6 separate regions of the Homo sapiens genome follow, and all the other regions are linked to region 1. Evidence: promoter capture Hi-C in 16 types of primary human blood cells and fetal thymus (Javierre and others, 2016). All regions are on one chromosome and are shown on one strand. The core of a region is centred on a gene start or on the middle of the fragment in contact, and the rest is flanking DNA. Distances in the headings are between cores, read along the strand shown. Region 1 holds the start of ZNF805 (zinc finger protein 805). Region 2 holds the start of MZF1 (myeloid zinc finger 1). Region 3 holds the start of LOC124904788 (a long non-coding RNA gene). Region 4 holds the start of ZSCAN22 (zinc finger and SCAN domain containing 22). Region 5 overlaps ZNF8 (zinc finger protein 8). Region 6 holds the start of ZNF8 (zinc finger protein 8).

Evidence for each region. Contacts are between HindIII fragments. The CHiCAGO score rates a contact against its expected background, and 5 or more counts as called.
Region 2: the fragment with the promoter of MZF1 here is called in contact with the fragment with the promoter of ZNF805 in region 1 in 1 of 17 cell types (neutrophils); the score reaches 5.4 in neutrophils.
Region 3: a fragment that was not itself captured here is called in contact with the fragment with the promoter of ZNF805 in region 1 in 1 of 17 cell types (neutrophils); the score reaches 5.3 in neutrophils.
Region 4: a contact is called between the fragment with the promoter of ZSCAN22 here and the fragment with the promoter of ZNF805 in region 1, in 3 of 17 cell types (neutrophils, non-activated CD4 T cells and total CD8 T cells). The highest score is 6.4, in neutrophils.
Region 5: a contact is called between a fragment that was not itself captured here and the fragment with the promoter of ZNF805 in region 1, in 1 of 17 cell types (neutrophils). The highest score is 9.8, in neutrophils.
Region 6: the fragment with the promoter of ZNF8 here is called in contact with the fragment with the promoter of ZNF805 in region 1 in 1 of 17 cell types (neutrophils); the score reaches 7.2 in neutrophils.

What each region holds. Positions count from the first base shown.
Region 1 is chr19:57,239,041-57,242,202 of GRCh38, reverse strand. ZNF805 (zinc finger protein 805) reads right to left here and starts at 1,571. Exons shown (of 4, transcript NM_001023563.4): 1 at 1,282-1,571. The coding sequence starts at 1,311. RefSeq lists a silencer at 1,274-1,343 and enhancers at 1,464-1,733, 1,754-1,973. The HindIII fragment of the contact is 2,977 bases long and covers 1-1,622 here.
Region 2 is chr19:58,571,734-58,574,895 of GRCh38, reverse strand. MZF1 (myeloid zinc finger 1) reads left to right here and starts at 1,561. Exons shown (of 6, transcript NM_198055.2): 1 at 1,561-1,841. MZF1-AS1 (MZF1 antisense RNA 1) reads right to left here. Exons shown (of 6, transcript NR_027334.2): 4 at 2,941-3,038; 5 at 2,073-2,318; 6 at 99-1,979. RefSeq lists enhancers at 1,187-1,616, 1,677-1,766, 1,135-1,994, 1,995-2,856. The HindIII fragment of the contact is 12,442 bases long and covers 1-3,162 here.
Region 3 is chr19:58,369,031-58,372,192 of GRCh38, reverse strand. It overlaps ZNF837 (zinc finger protein 837), which reads left to right. Exons shown (of 3, transcript NM_138466.2): 2 at 2,265-2,374; 3 at 2,832-3,162. The coding sequence starts at 2,861. It overlaps LOC124904788 (a long non-coding RNA gene), which reads right to left and starts at 2,386. Exons shown (of 2, transcript XR_007067364.1): 1 at 2,299-2,386. The HindIII fragment of the contact is 6,674 bases long and covers 1-3,162 here.
Region 4 is chr19:58,325,473-58,328,634 of GRCh38, reverse strand. It overlaps ZSCAN22 (zinc finger and SCAN domain containing 22), which reads right to left and starts at 1,641. Exons shown (of 3, transcript NM_181846.3): 1 at 1,521-1,641. LOC105372480 (a long non-coding RNA gene) reads left to right here and starts at 1,387. Exons shown (of 3, transcript NR_144444.1): 1 at 1,387-1,812. RefSeq lists enhancers at 1,341-1,670, 1,014-1,756. The HindIII fragment of the contact is 13,061 bases long and covers 1-3,162 here.
Region 5 is chr19:58,300,293-58,303,454 of GRCh38, reverse strand. ZNF8 (zinc finger protein 8) reads right to left here. Exons shown (of 4, transcript NM_021089.3): 4 at 664-3,162. The region is part of intron 4 of ZNF8-ERVK3-1 (ZNF8-ERVK3-1 readthrough (NMD candidate)); the gene reads right to left. Among named protein-coding and RNA genes, the nearest start is that of ERVK3-1, 3.5 kb to the left of the region's middle. The HindIII fragment of the contact is 9,060 bases long and covers 1-3,162 here.
Region 6 is chr19:58,277,266-58,280,427 of GRCh38, reverse strand. ZNF8 (zinc finger protein 8) reads right to left here and starts at 1,473. Exons shown (of 4, transcript NM_021089.3): 1 at 1,281-1,473. The coding sequence starts at 1,346. It overlaps ZNF8-DT (ZNF8 divergent transcript), which reads left to right and starts at 1,686. Exons shown (of 3, transcript NR_187495.1): 1 at 1,686-1,905. It overlaps ZNF8-ERVK3-1 (ZNF8-ERVK3-1 readthrough (NMD candidate)), which reads right to left and starts at 1,462. Exons shown (of 7, transcript NR_144447.1): 1 at 1-1,462. It also overlaps a transcript of ZNF544 not described here. RefSeq lists enhancers at 878-927, 1,348-1,397. The HindIII fragment of the contact is 22,069 bases long and covers 1-3,162 here.

The sequences.
Region 1 (3,162 bases), core at 322-2,821:
AATATGAGTTTGTTACTTAAGTGCTATGTGACTTTCAGCAGGTAACTAAACAGGTCGGAGTCTTGACCTCCTCTTGTGTACAGCAGTGTTTATAATAGAATGTCACTTTAAGGAGATCAGGATTAAATGAGATGATAAATAATGCCCATTTCTCAGTTCACATCAAGGACTCAATGAAGGCCAACCGTTACAGTTCTTGTGTTATTATTTATGCTCTTTGTCCCCACAAAATCCTTTAAGACCTCAACTCAGTAGGTGTCTAAAACTTTGCCAGATTCTCTATACAAAAACGCTAGACCAAGGGCAGGTGAGAAGGGGACTACTTTAGTCTGAACTGCCATGAAAGGCCGCTTTAAAGAAGTGACATTTGAGCAGAGCCAACAAGATGTGAAAGGGTCTTGCAGAGATCTGAGGATAGTGTCTGAGGCTGAATGAACTGTAAAGGTGAAGGCTGAGGGGTAGGAAAGAACTCTGCGTGATCAGATTGATATGTCTGAAGGGCTGAGCCAGGGAGGAAAGGAAGGAAACAAGGACAGAGGTGGTCAGCCATAGTGGACCTGTGTCTGAAGCGCTGAGCCAGGGAGGAAAGGAAGGAAACAAGGACAGAGGTGGTCAGCCATAGTGGACCGGGTAGGGACTTGCAGGCCAAGGCTGAGTTCGGATGATGTGTGTGACGGGAGTCCCTGGAGTGGAACTTCATCCATCCTTCAAGCAATTATTAAGCAGCTTTCAGAGGCCTGACACTTTAGCAGTGGAAAGCTGCAGAAGGGCTAACTAGAAGTGGGGCATCGTATGTGATTGGTTAGGCTGAGCACGTATGGCTTTCTCTGCTTGGTCCTCTTTTGGAGGCGGAGGCAAAAATTAGAACAGTCAGTTACAAATCAAGTCCTATTTGGGGCCTACTGTTCCAGGAGTTACCGTTTAGCCTCCTGAAATGTCACCAGAGAGTAATCTAGCTCCTTGCAAGACTAACTTAAGGCAGACTGGCTTCCAGAGTAGTTTATTGCAGAACAGGAGGCTGGTTTCCTGGGCAGGTTGCTACAAAAAAATTGTACGTCACAGCCCTATAATCGATGTATAGTCTGCCTACTGTCCGCTTCAATATTCAGTCTCTCAGGTACTACCACGACAGGAGATAAACTAAGTGACGAGCCTGCTCCACGTTTCGTAAACAAACAAAACTACAAAGAGGAATCCTGTGGCTGTCTTGGCTTCCGGCCTGCCCAGGAGGCTTCCCCGAACTAGCAGAAAAGCAGCAAGGCCGAAACCTTGTCCACTCACCTGCGCCGGGTCCGTCAAAGCCATCGCCATACCGGGACCCTGTGGCCCTAGCGGGGCGGGGGCTGCGGCGAGCAGGGCGGGTCTCGCGGGCTCAGCCGAGCCCCACCCCTTCCCTGCGCCGGGCCCGGTGACCTTGGCTGACAGTCAAACTCTCTCGTTACGGGGAGGCTCACGGTTCGCTCCGAGACGCGGAGGTCGCTGTCGGCCTCCTACCTGCTCATTTCCCCAGCGCCGCCAGGGAGGCGGCCACGGAACACCGCCCCCTCCCTAGAGCCGGCGTGGACGGAACCGTCGCTCCCAAATTACGTCCCATCCAAATGCCGGAAGTCCCGCCCCAAGCTTCGCAACCCACAGGAAACGCCCCTGTCCTGGACCATCATTGGCCCCAGGGCCCGCCGTCGCACCTGGCAATGCCTTGTAGTTAATGTAGTTTTTCTCTACAAACCACCTGCAAAGGGGACAGATCCTGAGCCGGCAGGCCTCGGTGTAAAAGTCGCAGCGGGCCTACAGCCCGGCTCAGACCTGCCTCTGTCCTGGGGGCACAACTCGGAGGCCAGGGACCAAGCGCGAGACCGTCCATTCTTGGCCGGAGGAAATCGAGCCCCAGGAGTCAGGGACATTTGCCAGGGTCAGGGCCAGTGCAGAGACCCTGGACCAGGCTCCGGACTCTGACTTCCACCTTGCATTATTTCCCCTCCGGATCCTCTTATACAGATCAGCGGGCAGTCAGAGTAACCAAAGGGGGACGTCGGGCGGCGCGATGCCTCAGGCCTGGGATCCCAGCGCATTGGGAGGCCAAGGGGGGCGGATCGCTTGAGCCCAGGAGCTCAAGACCAGCTTGAGCAACATAGGGAGACTACCAAAAAAAAAAAAAATTTTTTTAAAATAAGCTGAGTGTGCTGGCGCACACCTGTGGTCCCAGAAGTCTGTGGCAGGAGGATCGCTTGAGGACAGGAGTTTGAGAACAGTCTGGGCGACAGAGCGAGACCTCATTGGTACCAAAAAAAAAAAAAAAAGAAAAAGAAAAGAAAAAAAATAGAGCGCGGTGGCTCACGCCTGTAATCCCAGCACTTTGGGAGGCCGAGGCGGGTAGATCACGAGATCAGGAGATCGAGACCATCCTGGCTAACACGATGAAACCCCGTCTTTACTAAAAATGCAAAAAATTAGCCGGGCGTGGTGGCTGGCGCCTGTAGTCCCAGCTACTCGGGAGGCTGAGGCAGGAGAATGATGTGAACCCGGGAGGCGGAACTTGCAGTGAGCCGAGATCGCGCCACTGCACTCCAGCCTGGGCGACAGAGTGAGACTCCGTCTCTCTCTCTCTCTCTCTCTCTACTTATATATACATATATTTATATATACATATATACATATATACGTATATATACATATGTATATATACGTATATATATGCACATATATATTTATATATATATTTATATATATATTTTTTGAGACAGGGTCTCGCTCTGTTGCTCAGGCCATAGTGCAGTGGCGCGATCACAGCTCACTGCAGCCTCAAACTCCAGGGTTCAAGTGATCCTCCCACCTCAGCCACCCAAGTAGCTGGGACTGCAGGCACGCACCACCACGCCCAGCAAATTGAGGGTTTTTTTGTTTTGTTTTGTAGTTTTTGTAGTCAGTTTCACCATGCTGCCCAGGCTGGTCTTGAACTCCTGTGCTCAAGTGATCCACTCACCTTGGCCTCCCAAAGTGCTGGGATTACAGGCATGAGCCACAGCATCCAGCCTACTCAAAAAAAATTTTTAATTAGCTGAGCATTGTGGCACACCCCTGTAATTCCAGTTACTCAGGAGGCTGAGATGGGAGGATCTCTTGAGCCCAGGAGGTCGAGGCTGCAATGACCTGTAATTGCACCAC
Region 2 (3,162 bases), core at 312-2,811, 1.3 Mb before region 1:
ACTATTTTCTTTTTCCCTGTTTGTCCCCTAGCCCGGAGAACAGGTTCCCTTCAGACTGCCAAATATAATTTCAAAACAGTTAAAAACATGACTCTCAGTGAGCATGTGTCAAAAGATTTATTTACCGTACTGAGGGAAGCAGCAAGATGATTCTAGGAAGACAGGAAAGGAAGAATAAACACTGGCCGGCCGCGGTGGCTCACACCTGTAATTCCAGCAATTTGGGAGGCCGAGGTGGGCGGATCACCAGAGGTCTGGAGGTCAAGACCAGTCTGGCCAACATGGTAAAACCCCATCTCTACTAAAAATACAAAAATCAGCCGGGTGTGGTGGAGCAGCCTGCAGTCCCAGCTACTCGGGAGGCTGAGGCAGGAGAATCGCTTGAACCTGGGAGACGGAGGTTGCAGTGAGCCGAGATCGTGCCACTGCACTCCAGTCTGGCAACAGCGAGACTCCGTCAAAAAAAAAAAAAAAAAAAAGAAAGAAAGAAAAAGAAAAACACTGAAATAAAAGCACAAAGTTGGATACAAAACTGCTTAGTGAGCTACAAAGCGATACACTGGACAGAAAGCATTTGCAACCTATCAACCTGTACAGGGTAGCATATAACTGGACAGCATCTGGACTCCTAAGTTTTCCTAACAGTTTTACCTCGGATTCTCCCTGTCTCTCTTCGTGCTGTCATCTTTCTCTAGGTCTTCGAAAACTGTCAATCCATCTTACTGTATCTCTAATTTCTGTCCCTTTTCTCCCTTCTTGTTTCTGTCCCTCTCCCTTCTTGTCTACCTCTTGAGTCTGGATATCTGCATTTCTTGTCTCTGTGAACCCATTCTGCGTTTCCTTCTTTGTGTCTCTTTCATCTGCATCCCTTTCTGATCTGCCTCTCTCTTGCTAACTGTTCTGACACCTGTTTGCCCGGCCCTGACCCTCTGATCCACTCAGCCCTCTTATAACTTGGACCCGTGTCTCTATGTTTGTTCACTTATTTTCACTGTCTCTCCTCGCGTCGAGTCTCCGGTCCTCCCAGTCTGTGAGTCTGTCTCTCTGTCTCTCTCTCTCTTCCTCCCGCCGGTCCTTCGTCTCTCTTTGCCCTTGAGTCTCTGGTCTCTCTCCGTCTCTCCTCGCTGTTTCTATCGATCGGCATCTCTCTGCCCCAGTACCCTTCCCCACCTCTTCATCCCACATGCCCCATTGCATTTTCAACGCCCGCCGCGTCTCCGGGTTACCCAGGCGATGTCGAGTCGTGTCCCCAGGTTACCATGGAGACGTTCAGGGCCCGCCCCTCGCCCATGATCACAGAGGAACGTCATCGCGCCGCGCGCGCACGTACACACGAAGGGCCTGCTGACTACATCTGCCGGAAAGCATCGGGCCAAGCCTTTCTCCATTTTGCGGTCTAGGAAGTAGCAGAGGCCCCTTCCTGTAGGGAGTTGCCATGGAGACGCGGTGGGGCACCGACGGAGTTCTAATGACGGCCGTGATTGGTGCAGGATCCTGCTAATCTCAGGAAGGCCCGTAGAGAAGTGAGGAAAACGTGGTGGGGGGCATGCGCGATCTGGTAGGCGGTGCTGCCGTCTGTTGTACCTGAGAGGCTTGCGCATGCCGACGCACGGATTCGAGGCGGGGAGCATGGGAAGAAGCGGCCAGGAGTATGACCTGATCATTGCGACCACCGCTAGGGGAAGGGAGGAGAGGGTGTAGAAACGGGGACGAGGGTGGGGGAAGGGCAAGGAGGCGCTCGAGCTGGTGCGCGGAGCATCCTGGGAGACGTAGTCCAGCGGGAGGGGGAAGTCGAAGACTGCGCGTGCTCAGGAGCGCGGAGCGGCCCGCTGAGCGCAGAGGTGAGGGCGGGGTCCTCTTAACCGGGAGGGCTATCGTGTGGACGGGGGCGGTGGCTGCAGACTCGGGGATTCCGGCTCCCCAGTGAGACCGGAAGCGCGGGGAACGAATCCGGGCAGTCCTTGCGGGAGCGCCCAGGGCTAGAGCGAGAGGCTTGTCAATCACTACTCGTTGCCACGACGACAGGCTTTGGGAGCCCCGCCCCCGGTTGCCTAGGCGTCGTCTGGACCTACCTTGGCACCCTGGAGCGGAAGTTGCCGCCTGGACTTCTGGGAAGTGTATTTCGGGACCCTCCGTAGGTACCTGCCATCTTGGCTATGACCCAAGTCTCTCCCAGGGTTTCAGGTTGACTTGGCACCTTGAAGAGTGGAGGCTTGGCCCCCAGGATGAGGCGGCCCTCGAAATCGATGCCACCCACGGGGGAATGATTCTGCGGTGCCATCCCCTTCATAAACGCAGATTCCTTCCTAAAGCCGCAGCTGCAGAAGGAACAGCGCGAGGAGGGAGGTCAGCCCCACTTGCAAATGGGGAAACAAGTTCTCGAAGGCACAGTGATCTGAAGATGGGCGGAATCAGAGTCTCGGGACTTCCTTGCAGGCTCCTGTTCCGGCAGTCTTGGAGCCTTTGCCGCCCCCCCACCCATTGCGAAGCTCCCCCATCCCCTTCCAACCCCAGCTAAATCAGGAAGCTGAGATGGGGCATTGCGTAGTGTGATGTTGGGCTTAGAAGATGGGGCTGAGTAGGGAGAGAGGGTGCTGCCTGGGAGCTGAGCCATACAAGTGACTGCACAGGTTGACATGGAGGATTAGGTGGAGTGAGGCTTCCAAGCAGGGAGGGGAATGATGGTGGGGCCCAAATGAGGAGCCACATCGAAGTAGATGAGAGAATAGAAGGTGAAGTAAGGGCTGGCGTTGGGTAGGGGGAGACGCCAGCAGTGATGCTGATGCCCAGGCTGTAGGTGTATAGGTGCCATCCACCTGGTAAAGAGAGAGCTGTAGCGCAGGAATGAGGTTGCACATGTAGAAGAAGGGAAGGATACAGGGGAGAGAAGTGTCTTCTAGTCCTAAAAAACAGCCTGTGGGCTGGCATGGTGGAACAAACCTGTAAGTCCCAGCACTTCGGGAGGTCAAGGTAAGAGGATCATCTGCTTGAGCCCAGGAGTTCAAGAACAGCCTAGGCAACATAGTAAGATCCCATCCCTACAGAAAAATTAAGAAATTAGCCGGATGTCGTGGCACACACCTGTTGTCTCAGCTACTTGGGAGGCCGATCTCTGGAGCCCGGGAGGTCAAGTCTGCAGTGACGCATGATCTCGCCACTGCA
Region 3 (3,162 bases), core at 448-2,947, 1.1 Mb before region 1:
ATCCCAGCTACTCAGGAGGCTTAGGCAGGAGAATTGCTTGAACCCAGGAGGCGGAGGTTGCGGTGAGCTGAGATTGTGCCACTTCATTCCAGCCTGGGCAACAAGAGTGAAACCCTGTCTCTAAATAAATAAAAATAAACAAACAAACAAACAAATAAATAAAGGGATATCTGGCCAGGTACGGTGGCTCACGCCTGTAATCCCAGCGCTTTGGGAGGCCGAGGTGGGCAGATCACAAGGTCAGGAGTTCAAGACCAGCCTGGCCAGCATGGTGAAACCCCATCTCTACTAAAAATACAAAAAATTAGCCAGACATGGTGGCAGGCACCTGTAATCCCAGCTACTCAGGAGGCTGAGGCAGGAGAATTGCTTGAACCCAGCAGGCGGAGGTTGCAGTGAGCTGAGATGGCGCCACTGCACTGCAGCCTGGGTGACAGAGAGAGCCTCTGTCTCAAAAAACACCAAAATAAATAAAATAAAATAAGAGGATATCTGCCTTGCACAGAATAGGGAACACAGGACAAAAGGAGAAGAATCTGAGCTCCTGTGCCGAGTGAAGCAGTGATTTACGAGGGTGCCACAAGTGTGTCCATCTCACGCTCTGCATATGATGTTAGCCATCCGGGATTCAGAGTCTAAAGGCTGTGCTGGACAGATCCATCTTTGTTCTGGAAACAATGAGATCTAGGGAGGGGACAGGAGGATTGTGCACTTATCACGTGTGAGGCTGAGAAACCTCACATCACATCACAATGAGGAAAATATTTATTTATTTATTTATTTTTGAGACGGAGTCTCGCTCTGTCGCCCAGGCTGGAGGGCAGTGGCCCAATCCCAGCTTACTGCATCCTCCACCTCACAGGTTCAAGTGATTCTCCTGCCTTAGCCTCCTGAGTAGCTGGGACTACAGGCATGCATCACCATGCCCGGCAATTTTTTTTTTTTTTTTTTTGAGACAGAGTCTCGTTCTGTCGCCCAGGCTGGAGTGCAGTGGCGTGATCTCGGCTCACTGCAAGCTCCGCCTCCCGGGTTCACACCAGTCTCCTGCCGCAGCCTCCCGAGTAGCTGGGACTACAGGCGCCCGCCACCACGCCCAGCTAATTTTTTGTATTTTTAGTAGAGACGGGGTTTCACCGTGTTAGCCAGGATGGTATCGATCTCCTGACCTCGTGATCTGCCCACCTAGGCCTCCCAAAGTGCTGGGATTACAGGCGTGAGCCACCGCGCCCGGCTCCCCCCCCCCGGCCTTCACCCCTCCCTCCCTCTCTCTCTCTTTTCTTTTTTTCCTTTTCTTTTTTTGAAAGAGTTTCACTTTTGTTGCCCAGGCTGGAGTGCAATGGTGCGATCTCGGCTAACTGCAACCTCCATCTCCCGGGTTCAAGTGATTCTCTTGCTTTAGCCTCCTGAGTAGCTGGGATTACAGGCACGCACCACCATGCCTGGCTAATTTTGTATTTTTAGTAGAGACGGGGTTTCTCTATGTTGGTCAGGCTGGTCTCAAACTCCTGACCTCAGGTGATCCATCTGCCTCGGCCTCCCAAAGTGCTGGGATTACAGGCGTGAGCTACCGTGCCCGGCCGTCCTTTGTTTTCACTTGCTATTCAATTGCTTGCTTAGGAGATGAATATTTATATATGCACGTGTGTGTATCTCAGCAAAGTCCACTGTTGTAAGCAGAATAATGGCCCCCTGAAAGATCTGCACGTCCTGTTTCCTAGAACCTCTGACTATGTTACTTCACAAGGCAAAAGAACTGAGTGTGATGAAGTTTTGGATCTTGAGATGGGGAGATTCCTGGATTATGTGTGGTTGGCCTAGTGTGATCACAAGAGGCAGAAGGGTCAGAATCCTATAAGGAGTATAAGGAGATTTGACAACAAACCCAGAAAGAGAGAGATGAACATGTCTTACTGCTGGCTTGAAGATGGAAGAAAGAAAAGTAGGTGGCACCTAGAAGCTGGAAATGGTCAGCAAACGTCCTCCCCAAGAGCTTCTGGAAGGAACCCACACTACTGAAACCTTCACTTAGGACTTACGACCTCCAGAACTCTGAGATAACAAGTTTGCACTGTCTCAAGCCACTATGGGGTGGCAGTTTGTTAAAGCAGCTTTAACAATAGATAACTAATACAGCCACAGTGTAATTTTAAAATAGTAATAGCAGGCGCCAGGCGTTGCTAATGTTCACACTTGCTTGAATGATCTGGGCTGCCTGTCTCCCTACTCAGCTGGTTATACTTACCGTTATCATACCCATTTTGTAGATGAGGCTGCCAGCCTTGAGAGCACCACCGTTACCTGGTTGAAGAGGGGAGGGGAAGTCCAGCATTGGCCTCTGCAGCGTGGATCTCCCGGCCAGGCTCTCAGCTGTCAGGTGAGTCTCACCTCACACCTCTCAGAAGACATGGACAATGGCAGTGAATGGAGCCAGGAGGACCCGGAGTGTCGGCTTGCCACTGAGAAACGGAGGGCAGGAGTAAGTGAGATTTTGGGGAGCTGGCAGCTGAGCAACGGGGGAGTCCCTGTTGCTTGGGGAAGGGGGACCAGGGAGGGCCTTAGCCAGGGGCACAGTGTTTTAGGAGCTAGTGTTGGGGAGGAACGGTGATGGCGGGCAGGCAGAGCCTGGGAAGCTGTTCTCTGGGGTCTGGGTGGTGACAATTTGAAGAGGGGCAGGACGGGCTGCCTATGTCACTCCATTTACCCTTTCGCATCTGCAGAGAGCTGGGGGCCGCCCAGTAGGTGCCAGCTGTGGGGTGGTCGCTCGTTGGCCCAGTTCTCCACTTCTCTCCTCCTGGGAACCGCCAACCTCCATTTCTTCTCTGCTCTTCCAGATCCTACAACCAGAACTCTGCGCCCCAGGATGGAGGCTCCAGCCCAGAAGGCTGGGCAGGGAGGACTCCCCAAGGCCGATGCCCAGGGTGCCTCCGGGGCCCGGGAGAAGAGGCCCGAGGAGCCGAGGCCCCTCGAAGAGGACCGAGCTGGGAGCCGCCCCACTCAAAAGGGGGACCTGCGTGGAGCGGCGGGCGGTAGGACGACTCCCCCAGGCGGGGGCTCCCGGGGCTGCAGCCTCGGGGTGAGCCCCGGCCCGGGGACCCGGCACAGCGCCGGGACCAGACCCCTCGTGCGGGAGCCGTGCGGCCCCACCTCTTCTCAGAACCCTGA
Region 4 (3,162 bases), core at 392-2,891, 1.1 Mb before region 1:
GAGGTTCCCCATCCACAGCTGCTTTACCAACCAAGGAGGGTGGTTCTTTTCATTTCTCACACATGGATTATACCAAGCCTGATAATGGTACCTACCTCAGAGGGTTGCTATGAGATTATGTGAGGTGATTTATTATAAGTGTCCAGCACAGGCCTGGTGCACAGTAAACATGCAGTAGATGTATGGATACCATAGCCCCCTGCTACACGTAAGCAAACACTGGGGGACATATCCATAAGCCCAGCTGAATGACCACTAGTCACTCAGTTTCAGCTGCAGACATGGCAAAGCACAAATCCTCTCTCATATGCTTGGTAAACTGTTTGTGGATCACCCAAGTTTTAGTCTCCCTGATAAAAATCTCAGTCAATCAGATATTAACACATATTATCTCAGGTACAGTCTGTCAGCCACAGCCTTCAAAATACCCAGACACAGGAAATATCTCAATGTCACCTATAATCAGTCAAATAAACACAGGCCTGGCCAGGCATGGTGGCTCATGCCTATAATCCCAGCACTTTGGGAGGCCTAGGCAGGTGGATCACCTGAGGTCAGGAGTTCCGGGCCAGCCTAACCAACATGGTGAAAGCCCGTCTCTACCAAAAATACAAAAATTAGCCAAGTGTGGTGGCCGGTGCCTGTAATCCCAGCTACTCGGGAGGCTGACGCAGGATAATCGCTTGAACCCGGGAGATGGAGGTTGCAGTGAGCCGAGATTGCGCCACTGCACTCCAGCCTGGGCAACAGAGCAAGACTCCGTCTCAAAAATAAACACAGGCCCTCGCAGCATTTCCATCACACAGTATTATTCTGATCACAGTCATTCATAATCTTAGTCACCATCTCAAGGACACACAAAGAAAATCAGTCACACTTGAAATCCCACCGTCACACGCTCACCCTCTCACAGTATCTCACAACCCACGTAGGAAGTCTCAAACGGCAACCATCTCTGTCAGTCACACACTCCATGGTTAGTGTTACACTCAACCTATCAGAATCACACACTCCAACCCGTCAGATACACACACCCAAGAGGTGTCAGACACAGAACCGCCTATCAGACACATAAACGGGTCCGCCCCACACCCTCCCAGGCCACTGGTCCTACATTTTATCTGTTATCTGTCCGCCCGCTCCACACTTCGTCCGCCCCACACCCGGTCAATCAGTCCATCCGACACACACTCCGTCAGTCCGACACATTCTCCGTCGGTCCGTCCGGCACTCAGTGTGTCATTCCGCACCACATTCGGTCCGTGAGTCTGTCCACACCGGGTCCGTCAGTCCGTGCACACACGGTCCGTCCACGCCTGGTCCGTCAGTCCGTCACATCCTCTGCGCGTGTGTCCGGCACTCGCAGTCCGTCTACTCACGTCCCCTAGTCAGCCTCTCACTCTCTACCCGCTGGGCGGTACCCCGCATCTCGCTCTGGCCGCCCCAGAGGTTCGCGGCTTCTGGACCTGCTGTGCCCCTCTCCAGCCTGGATCAGGACGGAGAACACCCCCGAAACCCACCTCACCAGCACAGCCGGCGGACCCTTCCGGAGGTGGCCGCAGAGACTAGCCAACTTGCGCGCCCGCCGACCCGGACCACAGCTCCCAGCACACCTCAAGGGCCCACGCCCGCCAGGACTACAATTCCCGGCGTCCTCCGGAAGCTCAAGTGTACCCAGGCGCGGTGCCTGCTGGGAATTGTAGTTGACGTTGGTCAGCACGGAGGCCACAGGATCCCAGCCCGGCCTTTGTGGGACTGAGGTGGCGCTGAGTGGGAGAGCAGCAGGCGATGCGCGAAAGGCGGGACTTGGAGGTGAGGGAAATGTGAAGGCTGAGGGTGAGAGTGCCTGTGTGAGGCTGAGGGTGCCTGTGTGAGGGTGAGGGTGAGGGCGGCTGTGTGAGGGCTGAGGGCTGAGGGTGCCTGTGTGAGAGCTGAGGGTGCCTGTGTGAGGCTGAGGGTGCCTGTGTGAGGCTGAGGGTGAGGGCGGCTGTGTGAGGGCTGAGGGTGCCTGTGTGAGAGCTGAGGGTGCCTGTGTGAGGCTGAGGGTGAGGGCGGCTGTGTGAGGCTGAGGGTGGCTTTGGGAGGGCTGAGGGTGTTTGTGTGAGGGGTGAGGGGTAAGGGTGAGGCAAGAAAATCGGGTCTGGAGGCAGGGAACCTAAGGACTTCCTAGAAGTAAATCAAATGGAAACTGCAGCTATGGTAGGAAATATCCTCTCCATTTATGCAGGGCGTACATGGAGTAAATCACTTTGTAACTTTACTTCGTCCTCTTCATTTACATAGGGCATATACCAAGTAACCAATGGAAACCTCTAGAGGGTATTTAAACCCCAGAAAATTCTGTAACCGGGCTCTTGAGCCCCTATGCTCCGGCCTGCTCCCATACAGTGGAGTGTACTTTCATTTTCAATACATCTCTGCTTTTGTTGCTTCATTCTTTTCTTTGTGCATTTTGTCCAATTATTTGTTCAAGATGCCAAGAACCTGGACACCCTCCACCAGTAACAAGGGTACCTGGGTGAGAGGTGAGGGTGCCCATGTTAGGAGTGAGGGGAGAGGGTGCCTGTCTGAGGGCTTGTGGGTGTGAGTGTCTGTGTAAGTACTGAAGGTGCCTTTGTGAGAGGTGAGCGGTGTGGTTGCCTATGTCAGGGTGTGTATTGAGTGTAGCTATGTGTGGCTCTCTGTGAACACATGTAATCATTTTTATAAATGTGTATCATTTTTTACTGAATTTGAGCTGGGCGTCTGTCTGCATGAGTCACTCTGTGACCAGGTTTGTGGGTTGTTCTGTGTGCTTACTCTGCGTGTGTGTGACCTGTGATTTAATCATCATATGTGATAATCATGCAGCTGTGTTTGCCTGCACCAGGTGTAATTGTGTCTGAGACAGATACTTAGAGGTAATGGGGTGGACCTGACACAGTATAAAGGCCCTAGACTGTGTGTGATGTTGTTACGGTGACTGTGAATGGTAGTGTGATTGTGTGATTCAGTCGATGCCTGGACTGTGTGTGAGAATGTATCTTCTCTGTGTGTGTGTGTATGTGTAAGAGACATTGAGCAGGAGACTCTGGCTTGGGGCCCGATACATAGAGGTTGGTGGCCCAGCCTATGTTCAGGTGAGGCCTTTTTGAGGCAGGGTGTGTATGATTGCTTGGTGGT
Region 5 (3,162 bases), core at 371-2,870, 1.1 Mb before region 1:
TTATGTGTGTACATATAAACAAATGTTTCTTATTTATTTATTTATTTTTGAGATGGAGTTTCGCTCTTGTTGCCCAAGCTGGAGTGCAATGGCACAATATTGGCTCACTGCAACCTCCACTTCCTGGGTTCAAGCGATTCTCCTGCCTTAGCCTACGGAGTAGCTGGGATTAGAAGTGTGCACCACCACACCCAGCTTTTGTATTTTTAGTAGAGATGGGGTTTCACCGTGTTGGTCAGGCTGGTCTTGAACTCCGGACCTCAGGTGATCCACCCGCCTCGGCCTCCCAAAGTGCTGGGATTACAGGCGTGAGTCACCTTGCCTAGCCTGTTTCTTCTTTACATAAATGGAAACATACTCTACAGTTTGACACCTTGCTTTTATCTACTTAACTATCTTAGAGCTCTTTCTCACATTAGTATAGTTTGAGGATCCCTAATTCAAAAATCTGAAATCTGAAACACTTCTGGTCCTGAGCATTTTGGATAAGGGATACTCAACCTGTATATAAAGAGTCTTCATTTTTAAGGCTATGATCTCCATTCCACCATAAATGACTTAGCCAGTTCCCCATGGTGGACATGGAGGGTTGTTTCCAAATTCTGACTTTTAAAATCAATAGCATAATGAAAACCATGTACAAACAGTCTGCACACATACAAATATATGTGTAGGATTTATTCCCAGCAAGTTTGCTTAGACAAAGGGTTTATGTATGTGTAATTTAGATAGTGGCTGATAAACTGCCCTCCACAGAAGTTGTATCAATTCACATTCCCACTGTAAATGTATAAGAACCCCTCCAATGCCCCCTTTGAGAAAACTCAAGGCTGGTAAAATACTGGGTGGAGAGCACATTGTTACAATCCTCCTGAAAGTTAATTTAAAGAGCTACATGAAATTCATAGAGAAAATCCTCAAAATAGAGTAAGCACATGTTACAAGACAACTAGAAGGGATTCCAAATTTCTAAACACAAGATAACTATACACATATATATTCCTCTGTGTGTATGTAAAATTTAGTGTACACTATGTATGTGTAGACACACGTGTATATTTTAAGAAAAAGCTGCAAGGAAAATTAGTAAAATCCTAATGGTAAGGACCATCTATGGATGGCTAAAGTATGAGGAATTTTACACAAGTTTTCATTTTTTTTTTACTTTTATGCATTTTCCAAGTTTTGCTACAAAGAACTCGCATTACTTTTATGAACAGAAAAAAACATGTCTTTTCCCTAGTTAACAGTAATTTCCACGGAGGAGTTTCTTATCTGTTTCAAAATATCTACAAGGAAATCAGTAGGAATATCATGCTTAGAAAATGTGAACTGAAATGAGAAACAGAAAATATGCAAAGATCTGAAACACTTCTGGTCCCAAGCATTTCGATAAGGAATATTCAAGCTGTATATAGAGTCTTCATTTTTAATGAATTTTTATGATCACCATTCCACCATAAATGACTTAGCCAGTTCCCCATGGTGGACATGGAGGTTCTTTCCAAATTTTTACTTTTAAAATCAATAGCATAATGAAAACCATGTAGCCTGCACACATATAAATATATATGTAGGATTCATTCCCAGCAGGTTTGGTGAGACAAAGGGTTTATGTATTTGTAATTTAGTGACTGATAAACTGCCCTTCATAGAAGATGTATAAGAACCTTCCCACACCCCCTTTGAGAACTCAAGGCTTGTTGAGTTCCAGTTGATTGCTTCATCCCAGCTTACCACCCTGTGGGGCTGCTATAACCTCAGCCAACCCCATGCCCCCTCAGAGAAGTATCAACTGTGACCCCTTCAGGACTGGCCATTTTGGGGGCCAAGGTGGAGGGAATGAGGCAATCACAGGCCTGACTTCCAGAGCTGTCTAGAACCATGCTGTCATTTTTGGTCCCACTGCTTCAGAGGGGAGGAGCTTTCCTGTCTGGATTCCCAAGCCTGTGCCCCAAACTGCTGGTGGAGCAGAAAGGAGGAATGATCCAGAATAGGGTTTTGGTACCAGACTGTTTGGTTCACACTCTGGCTGGGCCACTTGGTAGCACATTACTTCTCCTCTTAGGGCCATCCTGCACTGTTGGTGGCAGTGGGGATGAAGTAAGCAAATCCGAAATGTTTACATGGCAAAATCAACAGGACCTCTAACTCCATGGAGTGGGGAAGGGGAGAGGTCAAGAAGACTGGTTTTCTGGCTTCCATGATGGGATGGCAAGTGGAAACAGCCTCCAGGAAAGGGATCAGGGAAGCAGAGACTAGTCTGGGTGGAAAATGAGTTTTGTTTGGGGTAGGCTGGGTTTGGGGAGCTTTCGGCACACCTCGGGGAGTTGCCCAGTAGCACACAGCAGTTGTTTGGGTCTGAAGCCCAAATCTCAGAAGCACCAGACTGATTTGGTGGTGAGCAGCACAAAGCTAGGGATGTAGATGACACCTGGGGAGGGCGTGGAGCACAAGGTGGACTCTAGGACCCCAGCATTTAGGAAGGGTGACGGGAGGTTGAGAAGTCCCTGAAGAGTTAGAAGGAACCCCACAATGCAAGGAGATGGAGCTCTGCAAAGAGGTTAGCAGGCTTCACAGTCCTGGGGATGAAGAGAGACGACACCAGAGGTAGTACCTTGGACAGTGGTTGCAGTGGGTTCTGTGAAGCAGTGGGGGCGGACAGCAGGTCTGAGGTGTGAGCTGCCACCAAGGGAATAGGGAGCACAAGCGATTCTCCCAAGAGCTTGAAGGAGAAAAGCAGCAGATACGGCTAGCTGCCTCCATCATCCACCAAGGGAATAGGGAGCACAAGCAATTCTCCCAAGAGCTTGAAGAGAAAAGCAGCAGCTACGGCTAGCTGCCTCCATCATCCACTTCCCAGGACTTTTCTCTCCCACCTGTCTCCACCACAGAGGTTAGAAAGGTAAATACGAGGTTTCTAAGCCCCGTTGTTATTAGGGGTGGCCCCCTGACCCATCTGTGGCCAGTGAGACTAAGGGGGGCATGTGCTGCAGGCTTCTGGGAATGTTTTTCCTTTAAACACCATCAGCGGTAAGTGTTGGCCTGCCCATTCCCCCTTCTTTCAGTCTTCACTGTGGATGCAATGGCTGGAGCCATAGGAGTCTCCTCATGACCACAATGGAAAGGTTGAGAGATTGCAGAAAACATCGACTGTGACAC
Region 6 (3,162 bases), core at 224-2,723, 1.0 Mb before region 1:
GGAAGGTGTTACAGTTTCTACCTTGCCCTCTCCTGGATCACTTGTTCTGTGGGAAGCCAGATGCCATGTTGCAAGGATCCCTAGCAGTTCCAAAGAGAGGCCTACATGGAGAACAACTGAGGTCTCCTATCAACAGACATGTGAGTGAGCCATCCTGGAGGTGGATCCTCCAGACTCAGGTCTCAGGTGACAACAGCTATGCTGACATCTTCACTGTAACTTCATGGGCCTGAACCAGAACCACCAGCTAGGACATTCCATTACTCCTGTCAGAACTCGTGAGATATTTATTGTTGTTCCAGGTCACGAAGTTTTGAGTTACACAGCAACAGGTAACTAATACACTTTCTCTCAAGCCTTTCTTACGACTCATTCCTTGTCCCCCATCCACAGCAAGAACAAAATAAAACGTGGTAGCATTTCATGCAAATTTGGAGCAACACACATCTGAAAACCTGCAACCTAAGATTATCAAGTCTCACTTTGTGTACCAAATCTGAAATAATGCAAATCCCCATGAACAAACCAACGACAAAAAATAAAAAAAAGTATAATTTCAAAGTTGCAGAGCTTGAGGAAGGATAATTATTGTTGTTTCCTGCCACGCGAGGCAGCTTTATGGAGAACACAGGCCGCAACCACTTTGTCTAGAAAGTGGAGCTCTGATGGCCAGATGGCCCTGCAAACACTGACCGCCCTGCACTGCAGTTCTCCCACAGTCTCGCAGGGGACGACCCTGGTGGTCACTCTCATCACACTCAGTGCGTGGTGACCCATCATTGCCCCCAAGAGGTTGTGCCCAAGCCCCAGGGCAGGGGCTCCGCGGTGCTGGGGTCCCGGTGGGTGTCCGCTGACTCCACGCGTTAAAGCATCTCTATTCGATGATTCTTGCCATCTGGGCACCCGGCCAACGCTACAATTACTGTTATCAGTCAACACGAGGACAGACCTTCCTGGAATGGGCAAGGGTGTCGGCGGGGCGGAGCAGAACGCAGGAGATGGGCCTGCTCGATTCTCTCGGGAATGACCGACCCCAGCCCTGGGGAGGACAGAGCCGCGTGGAGCATGCGCATTCGGGGGCCAGGCGCCTGGTTGGAATCCCGGCCCCCTCTCTGACCAGCCAGGACGGTCACCACGCCCCGACCCGCGTCTGAGTTTCCCCACGTGTCAAGGGCATTAACAGCGGTGCCGCTCTCATCGCGCCGCGAGGTGAAAGGGTCAGTCTGCGCGGGAGACGCTTGCCCGGAGCCCGCCGCCGTCGTTATTGTTGTTATTGTTACCTGAAGCCGGGCCGCCGGCGGCCCCACAGACATCACTCCCGCTACCCCTTCGTCCTCGGGGTCCATGCTGGATCGCCCAGTGAAGGACAGCGCCTGAGGTGATCCCCAGACCAGAGAGGCACTCCAGCCAAAGGGACCACCCGACTCGCCGAACGCCGGACAATGGCGGCCGCACCGGCGACGCGGCGACTACAACTCCCAGTAGGCCGTGCGGCGAACCACAGCCCTCGGCCAATGGGAGTCTCCGCTGGTCTGGCCTTCGACCAATGGAAGCATTATGGCCGATGGCCAATGGGAGCCCCCACCCGCTGGCCTCTGGCCAATGGGAGCACTCAGCTAAGGCTGGTGGGGGCGGTGTTGCTCGGGGCTGCGATGCCCCTTAGGTTGCGGGCAACCAGAGGCCTCACTCGTGGGCAGGAAGCAAGGGCGGACCCCGAGAGATGACTGATTGTGGGGGTGGGGACCGTCTGCTCCTCCTAATGGCTGGGGACCGTGCACGTCTGCGCGGGCCGGACCTGCTCTTCTCGGGAACTTGCGCGGGAGGAGGCCCGGAGCTGCGCCGCTTTACCCTCTGCTCCCCGGTGCCTAAAACGCACACGCATCAAAGTCACAGGACGAGTTAGAGGTTTGTTCATATAAAAGACTTTGGGCTTAGCGGCTGGAAGCGGGGAGGCTGGGAGCGGTGGTTGTGTTACAGGAAAGGGGTCCGATTCAGACCCCAAGGGAGGGTTCTTGGATCTCGCGCAAGAAAAAATTCAGGGCGAGTCCGCAGTGCAAAGTAAAAGCAAGTTTGTTGAGAAAGTAAAGTTGTGAAACAGCTACCCCATAGACAGTAGGACGTTCCTGAAAGTAAGAGGAACGTATGCACCCTAGGTACAATGCTTGTGTATATTTGGGCTAAAAATAGATTTTGGGGAGATGTGCTCTGCTACAAGGGTTTGTGAAAAAGGATTAATTTTCTTACTGTATTTTTCAAGAATCGATATTATTTTTAAAGCAAAATTAGGAATGCCTTTGTTCTCTAGATACCGGGATATCTGGACACTCCCAAGTCTGGGTCTGTTTTAGTACCCATTATTAATTTGTTCCCTTAACCGTAAACATCTAGAGGTTAGGAATACCTACTTTTCTGGGAATGCAGCCCAGCCTCATTTTCCTAGCCCTCACTCAAAATGGAGTCGCTCTGGGTCGAATGCCTCTGACAGCCCTATTGCTTCTCCCTGTGGGTGTTCACTTTGTGATGTGTCTTTTTCTGTGGGTCTGTTGTAGTCCATTAAAATGTTTATTAAAGGTCGGGCGCGGTGGCTAACGCCTATAATCCCAGCACTTTGGGAAGTCGAGGCGGGTGGATCACGATGTCAGGAGCTCGAGACCAACCTGGCCAATATGGTGAAACCCCGTCTCTACTAAAAATACAAAAATTAGCCCGGCGTGGTGGCGGGCACCTGTAGTCCCAGCTTCTCGGGAGGCTGAGGCAGGAGAATCGCTTGAACCTGGGAGGCGGAGGTTGCCGTGAGCCGAGGTCAGGCCACTGCACTCCAGCCTGGGTGACAGAGCAAGACTCCGTCTCAAAAAAAAAATAAAAAGTTATTAAAAAAGAAAAATGGGGAAGCAGATTTCCATTCAAAAATGTTGCATTCAAACCACAACAATTTTTAACTTTTTTAAATTTTACCAAGAGCCAGACACATAGCAGGGAACAGTATAGTTACTTGTTATTTGCTCACCCCCATGGGGCTGATGGTGTAGTCTGAGGGACTGAAGATCAACCATGACATGGCCCTTCACACCGTGTTGAAGGGGTGAAGACGTTACCAGTGGGGACGGAGGAGCTGACTCCCGAGGGGCTCAAGCTGGCCACACTCTCTCAGATCCTTCTGGC